Linked DNA regions of Homo sapiens: region 1 is linked to region 2. Evidence: promoter capture Hi-C in 16 types of primary human blood cells and fetal thymus (Javierre and others, 2016). All regions are on one chromosome and are shown on one strand. Each heading gives the region's core, a stretch centred on a gene start or on the middle of the fragment in contact. The rest is flanking DNA. Distances are from core to core; before and after follow the strand shown.

What was found. Contacts are between HindIII fragments. The CHiCAGO score rates a contact against its expected background, and 5 or more counts as called.
Region 1: a fragment that was not itself captured here is called in contact with the fragment with the promoter of MANBAL in region 2 in 1 of 17 cell types (total B cells); the score reaches 5.2 in total B cells.

Annotation. Positions count from the first base shown.
Region 1 is chr20:38,027,473-38,032,445 of GRCh38, reverse strand. The region is part of intron 1 of TTI1 (TELO2 interacting protein 1); the gene reads left to right. Among named protein-coding and RNA genes, the nearest start is that of TTI1, 3.5 kb to the left of the region's middle. The HindIII fragment of the contact is 1,523 bases long and covers 1,794-3,316 here.
Region 2 is chr20:37,288,306-37,293,126 of GRCh38, reverse strand. It overlaps MANBAL (mannosidase beta like), which reads right to left and starts at 3,472. Exons shown (of 3, transcript NM_001003897.2): 1 at 3,441-3,472. RefSeq lists enhancers at 1,260-1,369, 2,598-3,502, 3,575-3,684. The HindIII fragment of the contact is 7,246 bases long and covers 1-4,821 here.

The DNA.
Region 1 (4,973 bases), core at 1,306-3,805, 740 kb before region 2:
AATTTCCTGATCGTGGTATAACTTCCTAGTTGTGGGCAGACTCTAGTTTAGGAGACGTTCTTCTAGTTGATGCCTGCTTTTGCTCTTATTGCACTGTATTGCAGTTCTTTGCTTACATGCTTTTACCCTTCCTCCAGACTGGAATCATAATCATAGCTAACGCAGTGAGAGGTTACTATGTGCTAGACACAATTCCCACACAGTAACTCATTTAATCCTCACAACAAAGCTGTGAGGTATTATATTATCCCCCTTTGGACAGCGTAGGAAACAGGCTCAGAGAGGTTAAGTGACCTACCCAAGATCACATTACTAAGACTTGAGGGAAGGGGCTGCAACTTAGCCATCTTTTTGGCCCCAGTTCCTGATTTATCAAGTGAGTTAGTGTAAAAGAGGTGAGTAACCTAAAATCATACAGTGAGTATCTAGTCATAACTGAGGGCTTTTGTGTCGAAATCTAGATCATCTTTCCATATTAATAACACTGTCATATACTGAGCACTTTTATACCAAGTCACTGTCTATTAAGCACATTACATACTTTTTAAATTTAATTCTTACATCAGTCTTAGGAGTTGAAATTATTACAATCACTATTTGATAGACGAGAAAATGTAAAGCATGGTTAAGTACCCTATGTACTTGGACATAGTTAGGAAATAGCAGAGCCAGGAGTCAAATTAGGGTTATCTTATGTCTGATCCCAAATTCTTGCCTCCTGAACCAATAGTTTATTCATTCATTCGGAAAATAATTTTTCAGCACCTATGTCCAAAGCACTCTTCTAAGCTAACAGACAAAATCCACGTTCTCAGGAACTTACTTTCTACTGAGAAAGATAGAAAAACAAACATGCAAGTTTAGAATAAGTCAGAAAGTGGTAAGTAACTTCAATAAAAATCAAGGAGATAAGGAGGATAAGGAATGTATATGTGTAGGTGGGTAGTCTTTTACTTATGCTTCTCAGAGAAGGCCTCATTGATAAGATGTCATTTGAGAGACAAGCCATATGCCATTGTTCCAGGAAGAGGGAAAACCAAGTTTATACCATTGTTGGCATTTTGGAGCAACAGCAGAGAGGACAATAAAGCTGGAGTGATATGAACTAGAAGGGTGGCTGGAAATTAGTTCAGAAAAGTACGAAGGGACTGCATCACATGGTGACTTGTAGGCAATAGTATAGACTTTAGATGTTACTCTGAATGAAATGAAGTCCACTGGGCAGTTTTGCACAAAGAAGGAGCATTGTGGCTGTTAGGTAGAAAATAAGACAGTAAGAGTGCAAAGGTAGAAGCAGGAAGGACCAGTTTGGCAGCTGTTGTAGTAACCCAGGTGAAAGGATAACTCAAACCAGGGTGGTATCTGTGGAAGTGGTAAGAAAGGGACAGTTCTGGGGATATTTTAGAGGAAGAGGTAACAGGATCCGCTGATAGATTGGATATGGGGTGTGAAAGACATATGAGAGTTGAGATAGCTCCAAGGGTTTTGGCCTAAGCAACTATAAGAATAGCGCTTCCATTTACTGAATTACAGAAAAGAGTGGGTTTGGAGAGTAAGAGCAAGCATTTGTATTTGGACATGTCCATTTGGAAATGCCTATCTGAGTATAGATGTCTAAGGGGCAGTTGGGTTTATGGGTCTGGAATTCAAGGAAGAGCTATCTGGGTTAGAGATAAAAATGTGAGAGTCATAACGGAATAAGGTGTAAAAAGAGACTGAGTCCTAGGATTCTTCAACATATAGAGGTCTGAAAGGTGAGGATGATATGATTATGTGATTTTTCTTCTTAAGCTTGTTAATAGCTTGTTAGTATTAACAACTCTAATTGATTTTCAAATATTGAGCCAGTCTTGCATCTCTGAAATATACCCCACTTTATCATGGTGTGTGTGTGTGTGTGTGTGTGTGTGTGTGTGTTTTACATACTGCTGAATTTCCTAATATTTTCTTTAGGATTTTTGCATCTATACTCATGAGAGAAATTGGTCTATAGATTTTTTTAATTTTTGTATTGCCTTTGGTTTGGTATCAGGATAATACTGGCTTTATAAAATGGATTGGAAAGTGTTTCTTCTTTTTCTAGAAGAGTATGTGCAGAATTGGTGTTAATTCTTCATTAAATGTTTGGCGGAATTCTCCAATGAAACCATCTTGGTTTGGAGATTCCCTCCACTCCCTGCTTCCCTCCCTCCCTCCTTCCTCCTTCCTCCCTCCTCCCTCCCTCCCTTCCTTCCCTTCTTCCTTTTTTTTCTGGAGTTTTTAAGTGACAAATTCAGTTTATTTAAAAGTTATAAAGCTGTTAAAATAATCTCTTTCCTATTGTGGTTGTGTTTTTTGAGGAATTAACCACTTCATCAAAGTTGTCAAATTTATATGGGTAAAGCTATTTGTGGTATTCCCTGTCTTTGTTTTCTGTTGCTTATAACAGAATACCTGAAACTGGGTAATTTATAAAGAAAAAGGATGTATTTCTTACAGTTATGGAGGCTGAGAAATCCAAGGTCACAGGGCCACATCAGGTAAAAAACTTTCTTGCTGGTGGGGACTCTGCAGAGTCCCAAGGCAGTGCAGGATATCACAGGGCCAGGGGGCTGAGTGTGCTAGCTGAGGTCTGTTTTGCTCTTATAAAGCCACCAGTTCCCATGATAACCCATTAATCCATTTATGAGGGCTTATAAAGACTCCACTTCTCAATACATTGGGAATTAAATTTCAACATGAGTTTTGGAAGGGACGGATATTCAAACCATAGCATTCCCATATTACCCTTTGATGTCTGCAGGGTCTGTAGTACTGTCCCGTTTCATTACTGATATTGGAAATTTCCAGTATCAGTGTCTCGTCTCTTCTCTCTCCTCTCTCTCTCTCTCTCTCTCTTGCTCACTCACTCCCTTGTCAATCTTGCTAGAAGTTTGTCAATTTTATTGACCTTTTCAAAGAACCAGTTATTTATTTCATTGACTTTCTGTGTTTTCTGTTTTCAGTTTTGTCAGTTTCTGCTCCTTATTATTTCTTCTGCTTGCTTTATTTTGCTCTACTTTGTCTAGGTTCTTGTGGTAGGAGTTTACCTTTTTCGTTTGAGACTTTTCCCCTTTTCTAATATATGACTTAGTACTATTAATTTACATCTCAGCATGGCTATAGCTGTATCCACAGATTTTGGTGTGTCATATTTTCATTTTCATTCATTTCCCTATTTTTTTTCTAATTTCCCTTAAGGTTTCCTCTCTGTTCCGTGGATTATTTAGAAACATGTTGTTTAGTTTCCAAGTATTTGGAGATTTTCCTGTTATCTCTGTGTTAGTGATTTCAAGCTTGATTTCATTGTGGCTGGGGAATGTCACTCTGTATGATTTCAGTTCTTTTAAATTTGTTGAGGTTTGTTTTATGGCAGGATAATCATCTGTCTTATGTTCTATGAGCACTTGAAAAGAATGTGGGCTAGGCACTGTAGCTCATGCCTGTAATCTTAACACTTTGGGAGGTCAAGGCAGGAGGATCACTTGAGCCTAGGAGTTCAAGAACAGCCTGGGCAACATGGCGAAACTCGGTCTTTAAAAAATACAAAAATTAGCTGGGCATAGTGGCATGCACCTGGAGTCCCAGCCACTCAGAACGCTGAGGTGGGAGGATTGCTTGAGCTCAGGAAATTGAGGCTGCAGTGAGCCATCATCGAGCCACTGCACTGCAGCCTGAGCAATAGAGTGAGATCCTGTCTAAAAAAACAAATAACAACAACAAAAGAATGTGTAGTCTGCTATTGTAGGATGGAGTGTTCTATAAATGTCATAGGTCCTGTTGGTTGATGGTGGTGGTTTTTCTATATCCTTGTGGATTTTTGGTCTAGTTATCCTATCCATTGTTGAGAGAGGAATATTGAAGTCACCACCATCTATTGTGAATTTGTTTCTCCTTTTAGTTTTATCCATTTTTGTTTCACACATTTTACAGCATATACATTTTAAGATTGCAGTATGTTCTTAGTAGATATACCTGTTATTCATTGTACTCTGTCTCTGGTAATTTTTTTTCTTTTGCTCTGAAGTCTACTTTATCTGGTGCTAATATAGCTACTTCTACTTTCCTTTGATTAATGCTTACATGATAATATCTTTTTCCATCCTTTGATTTTCAATCAGCCTCTATAATTCTGCATAGTGAGTTTCTTATAGACAGCGTGTAGTTAGATCATGTTTTTAAATCCACTCCGCCAATCTCAATCTTTTAATTGATGTATTTAGACCTTTTATGCTTAATACAATTATAGTTGACCCTCTATATTCATGGGTTCCGTCTCTGTAGATTCAGTCAACTGTGGATTGAAAATACAGTAGACCCTTGAACAACACAGATTTGAACTGCGGCCATCTATTTATATGCAGATTTTCTTTCCCTTCTGCCAACCCACCTCCTCCTCAGCCTACTCAAGGTGAAGACAAAGATGAAGACAGACCTGTGTAATGATCTACTTCCACTTAATGAATAGTAATTGTGATTTTCTTTTCTTTCTTTCTTTTTTTTTGAGATGGAGCCTCGCTCTGTCACCCAGGCTAGAGTTCAATGGTGCGATCTTGGCTCACTGCAACCTCCGCCTCCCGGGTTCAAGTGATTCTCCCACCTCAGCCTCCTGAGTAGCTGGGATTACAGGCACCTGCCATCATGCCTGGCTAATTTTTGTATTTTTGTAGAGACGGGGTTTCACCATGTTGGCCAGCCTGGTCTTGAACTCCTGACGTCGGGTGATCCACCCACCTCAGCCTCCCAAAGTGCTGGGATGCAGGCGTGAGCCACTGGGCCCAGCCTGTGATTTTCTTAATAACGTTTTCTTTTCTGTAGCTTGTTTTATTGTAAGAACACAGCATATAATACATACAGCATAAAAAATTTATGTTAAACAACTGTTTATGTTATCAGTAAGGTTTCCAGTCAACAGTAGGCTGTCAATAGTTAAGTTTTTGGGGAGTCAAAATTTA
Region 2 (4,821 bases), core at 2,223-4,722:
CTTCCATGAAACCGGTCCCTGGTGCCAAAAAGGTTGGGGACTGCCAAGCTAGAACAATCCATGCAGTCATGGATAAGAGTTGGACATCAGTTATGTTTAGCTGAACGTAGATACAGGTGGTTATATATGGAAATACTTCTAGATCTGTGCATATATACGTATGTCTCTTACTCTGTCCACTGCGAAGGCCTAGAAGCAAGGACACTGAGAAGCACTGAGCATACCTAGAGCCCAGATCTTGTTTTCTGGGCCATTCTCCAATAAAAGGAGCCAGGGCTCCTTGGGAAATGGCTAATTCTAGGACTGGGGCAGAAACATACCAGATGAGTCTGGAATAGAAAGAAAGTGCTCAACAAAACAAAACAAAGCAAAACATATAGAGGGGGATATGTCAAAGGGATACAGGAGCCAAGTGGAAGAGCTCCCAATGGCCAATGGAGGAACAATTTCAGCAACAAAATAAAGTAGTACTGGATTCTGGTCCAAAGTATAAAATAAACATCCATGAGTTCAGGCCCGGCATGGTGGCTCACGCCTGTAATCCCAGGAGAGGGGATTCCTGTAATCAGGAGGCCAAGGCAGGTGGATCACCTGAGGTCAAGAGTTCAAGACCAGCCTGGCCAACATGGTGAAACTCTCTCTACTAAAAATACAAAAATTAGCCAGCCATGGTGGTAGGTGCCTGTAATCCCAGCTACTCAGGAGGCTGAGGCAGGAGAATCACTTAAACCCGGGAGGTGGAGGTTGCAGTGAGCCAAGACTGCACCACTGCACTCCAGCCTGGGCGACAGCGGGAGACCCTGTCTCAAAACAAAACAAATCCATGAGTTCACACCGATACAAATATATGACTCTGTAAGCAAAAAATAGGGGAACAGACAAATTTCCCACAGAGAACTCCAAATAATTTGCATTATATACTCTGCCTTTAAGCATGGGGCATAATTCCACACTCCTTAAATGTGTGCTGTACATAATGACTTTCTCCAAAAGTACAGTGCGGAAAGTGCAGGAGGAAAAGTAACTCTACACTGGAAAAGCCTGACTACTACCTCAAGCCAGGTGGCTCAAGCTAACAGATGTCAACAATGATAACTCATATCGATAGTATGTACCCTTGATATGATGTGATGAGAATAGCACTTTACTTCTGTGGTTGGATTAGTCCATTTTCATACCACTTTGAAGAAATACCCGAGACTGGGTAATTAATAAAGAAAAAGAGGTTTAACGGACTCACGGTTCCACATGGGTGGGTAGGCCTCACAATCACGGCAAAAGGCAAAGGGGAGGCAAGGGCATGTCTTATGTGACAGCAGGCAAGAGAGTGTGTGCAGGGGAACTGCCCTTTATAAAACCATCAGATCTCCTGAGACTTATTCACTATCAGGAGAATAGCATGGGAAAGACCCACCCCCATGATTCAATTGTCTCCCACCAGGACCCTCCCACAACATGGGGGGATTATGGGAGCTACAATTCAAGATGAGATTTGGGTGGGGACACAGCCGAACCCTATCAGTGGTCCTCCTCCCCAAAAACCCATTACCCTGATCTTACTCATGTCAAAAACAGGCAAATCCTAATTAAAGGTCCTTCTGCAAAATATCTGACCAGTCAGTACTATCTTCAAAACCCTCAAGTTCATCTAAAACAAGGGAAGTCTGAGAAACGATCACAGAGATGATGAGCCTAAAGAGATATGATGACTAAATGTAATAGGGTGCCCTGGATAATACCAGGACAGAAAAAGGACATTAGGGAAAAACTAAGGAAATGTGAATAAAGTACAGATTAGAGTTAATAATAATGTATCAATATTGGTTCAGTAATTGTGACATTTCAGATATTAGTAATAGGGGAAACGTGGGCTATATGGGCACTCACTGAAGTATCTTTGCGATAACTTTGTAAATCTAAAATTATTCTAAAACAAAAAGGTTATTGGGGAAAAAAAGAATGGGTCAACATTTCAAAACAAATAAATAAAAAACCACTGAGACAAGTATAGCTCTCAAGACTTAGCAAATACTAAATCTTCTCTTAAGACTGAAAAACTCAGATTTCACGACTGCCACAGGCCTTCATCTCCCAATGTTGTGTACTGTGCTGGTAGGCCATTCTTGGCTTCTAATGAAGTAACTTTAAATTCTATTGTGAAAATTCAGCTGAAAACAGACTGGGGAATAGAAACCAGTGTCAGAAGTTACTGTTTTAGGCCAGGCACAGTGGCTCTTGCCAGTAATCCCAAACACTTTGGGAGGTCCAGGAGGAAGGATATCTTGCCTCCAGGAGTTCAAGACCAGGCAGGAAAACATAGTGAGACTCCATCTCTATTTCAACTTTTTTTTAATTAAAAAGAAAAAAAAGCCGGGTGTGGTGGCTCCCGCCTATAATCCCAACACTCTGGGAGGCCGAGGCGGGTGGATCACCTGAGGTCGGGAGTTTGAGACCAGCCTGGCCAACATGGTGAAACCCTGTCTTTACTAAAGATACAAAAATTAGCCGGGCGTGGTGGCACACGTCTGTAATCCCAGCTATTCGGAAAGCTGAGGCAGGAGAATCGCTTGAACCCAAGAAGCGGAGGTTGCAGTGAGCCAAGATCCCGCCACTGCCCTTCAGCGTGGACGAGAGAGAGACTCCGTCTCTAAATAAATAAATAGAATGGCTTTAAAAAAAAAAAAAGGAAAGAAAAAGAAGTTACCGCTTTATGGCAATGGGTTGTACAGCCTGGCCCGTCCCATTAAAACAAATTCCTAAGAACCACGCAAAACTAGATTAGAATGCAAAGCTAAGCCACCTCTCTGGGCAAAGTCACACTGGTAGCCGGTGGGCTGAAACTGGTGTGCAGATGCCCTGCAAAATATAATTATTAATCTAAATGTGTTGTCACCATTTTAAAAATGTTTCTCATATTCATTTCTCGCTTCTCTTAGAATTCGTACAACAAACATGGACTGTGCACCTACTAAGGGCTTTACATTCACCACCTCGGTTTACCCCGCAGTACAAGCGTGTATGTCCATTTTAGAAGACGAAACTGAGGGCCAGAGAGGAACCGTGACTTGCCCACGGTAAGAGAGCCATACGGATTCGAACCCTGGCCAGATTCACTCTGGAGCTCAGGGTTCTCCTACTGCTCCACCCGTGGGAGGAAAGGCCCGGACCAGGCCATGAGGAGCCCTGGGTTCTGGCCCAGCCTCCGCACGAAAGCGCAGGGCTGCCCCAGGCGAGGCCCTCCGCCTCCCGGGGGGCTCAAATTCCCCTCCGGAAGTAACTTTCGAACAACCGCCGAGGGAACGTATTCAGGCCCTGAGCGGAGCGACAGCCGGGCCCACCAAGCGGCGCCGCTGGAGACAGGCCGGCCGGGAAAGCCAGGCCACCGCACCGAGGACGGCTCTCTCTCGGTTCCCACCCCACCGCAAAGCTGCGGCACTCACCTCCCGCGCCGCCGCGCCGCTCCCCCGGAAGTAGTTCCCTGCGACCCTGAGTCCCGGAAGTGACGCGCACTGAGCAACCAACCGGCTCTGTTCCGCCCGCGTTGCCAGGTTTCTGGGTGAGGCACCGCTGGGTTTTGTCGACTTTTGTCCCTGTTCTGTGGGTTCGAGCTGGACAAAGAGGTTTGGGGAAATGAAATCTAGAGCTTGTCAATTCTTTAAGCTCCTATATCACTCAGCTCGTTTCAGCAACATTTTTGTTTAATTAAAAAGAAAACAAAAGAAATTACTTCTCGGGGCTGGGCACGGTGGCTCACGCCTGTAATCCCAGCACTTTGGGAGGCCGAGGCGGACGGATCACTTGAGGTCAGGAGTTCGAGACCAGCCTGGTCAACATGGTGAAACCCCGTCTCTACCAAAAATACAAAAATTAGCCGGGCGTGGTGGCGGGCGCCTGTAATCCCAGCTGCTTGGGAGGCTGAGGCAAGAGAATCTCTTGAATCCCGGGAGGCAGAAGTTGCAGTGAGCCGAGATCGCGCCACTGCACTCCAGCCTGGGCGACAGAATGAGACTCTTCCTCAAAAAAAAAAAAAAAAAAAAAAAAAAGTTACTTATTCATCGCAATGGGCTGTATAGCTTGGCCCGTCTCATTGTAACAAATTCGTAAGAACTGCGCGAAACTAGATTAGAATTTTGTCCTATGCAAAGCTAAGCCATCTCCCAGAGCAGAGCACAGTCACAACTGGTAGCTGGTGAGCTAAAACGGGTGTGTAGCTGTCCTGCAAAATGTTCATCTGGATGTGTTGTCACTATTTCAAAAGTGTTTCTCACGTTCATTTCCTTAATTTTATGCCAGGTCCTGAGCTAGGAGCCTACAATGCAGAGAGGAGACAAACAGAAACACCTCTTGTAATTCAGACAGAAGCAAATCATTATAATTCATTCAAAAAGCATTCACTGAGCGCGTACTCTATGCTTTGTCCTTGTAACTGAGGACACAGTGCTAAAGCAGACACATACAGTCTCTGCCCTTGTGGTGCTTACAGTCCGTTGGAGGGAGACAGACTAATTAAATGAATGTGTAATCATATAACAGGATAAGTTTTTTGAAGGCAAAGAACAGTGTTCCATGATTAAGAAGGGGTGGGGGGCAAGTAGTAGGAGAAAAAGAAACCTAGATGAGAGTGTGATAACCAGCCTCCACCATAAACCCTGACGATTCTTGGCTCCTGATATCCATACCCCTCTGTAGTCACCTCCCACCAAGAATAAGACTGACCTGTATAACCCATAGGATATTGCGGAAATCTTGGAGCACGAGTTCCAAGATAAAGTCATAAAAGACATTGCAACTTCCTCTTTCCTCTGTCTTGATTGCTCATGG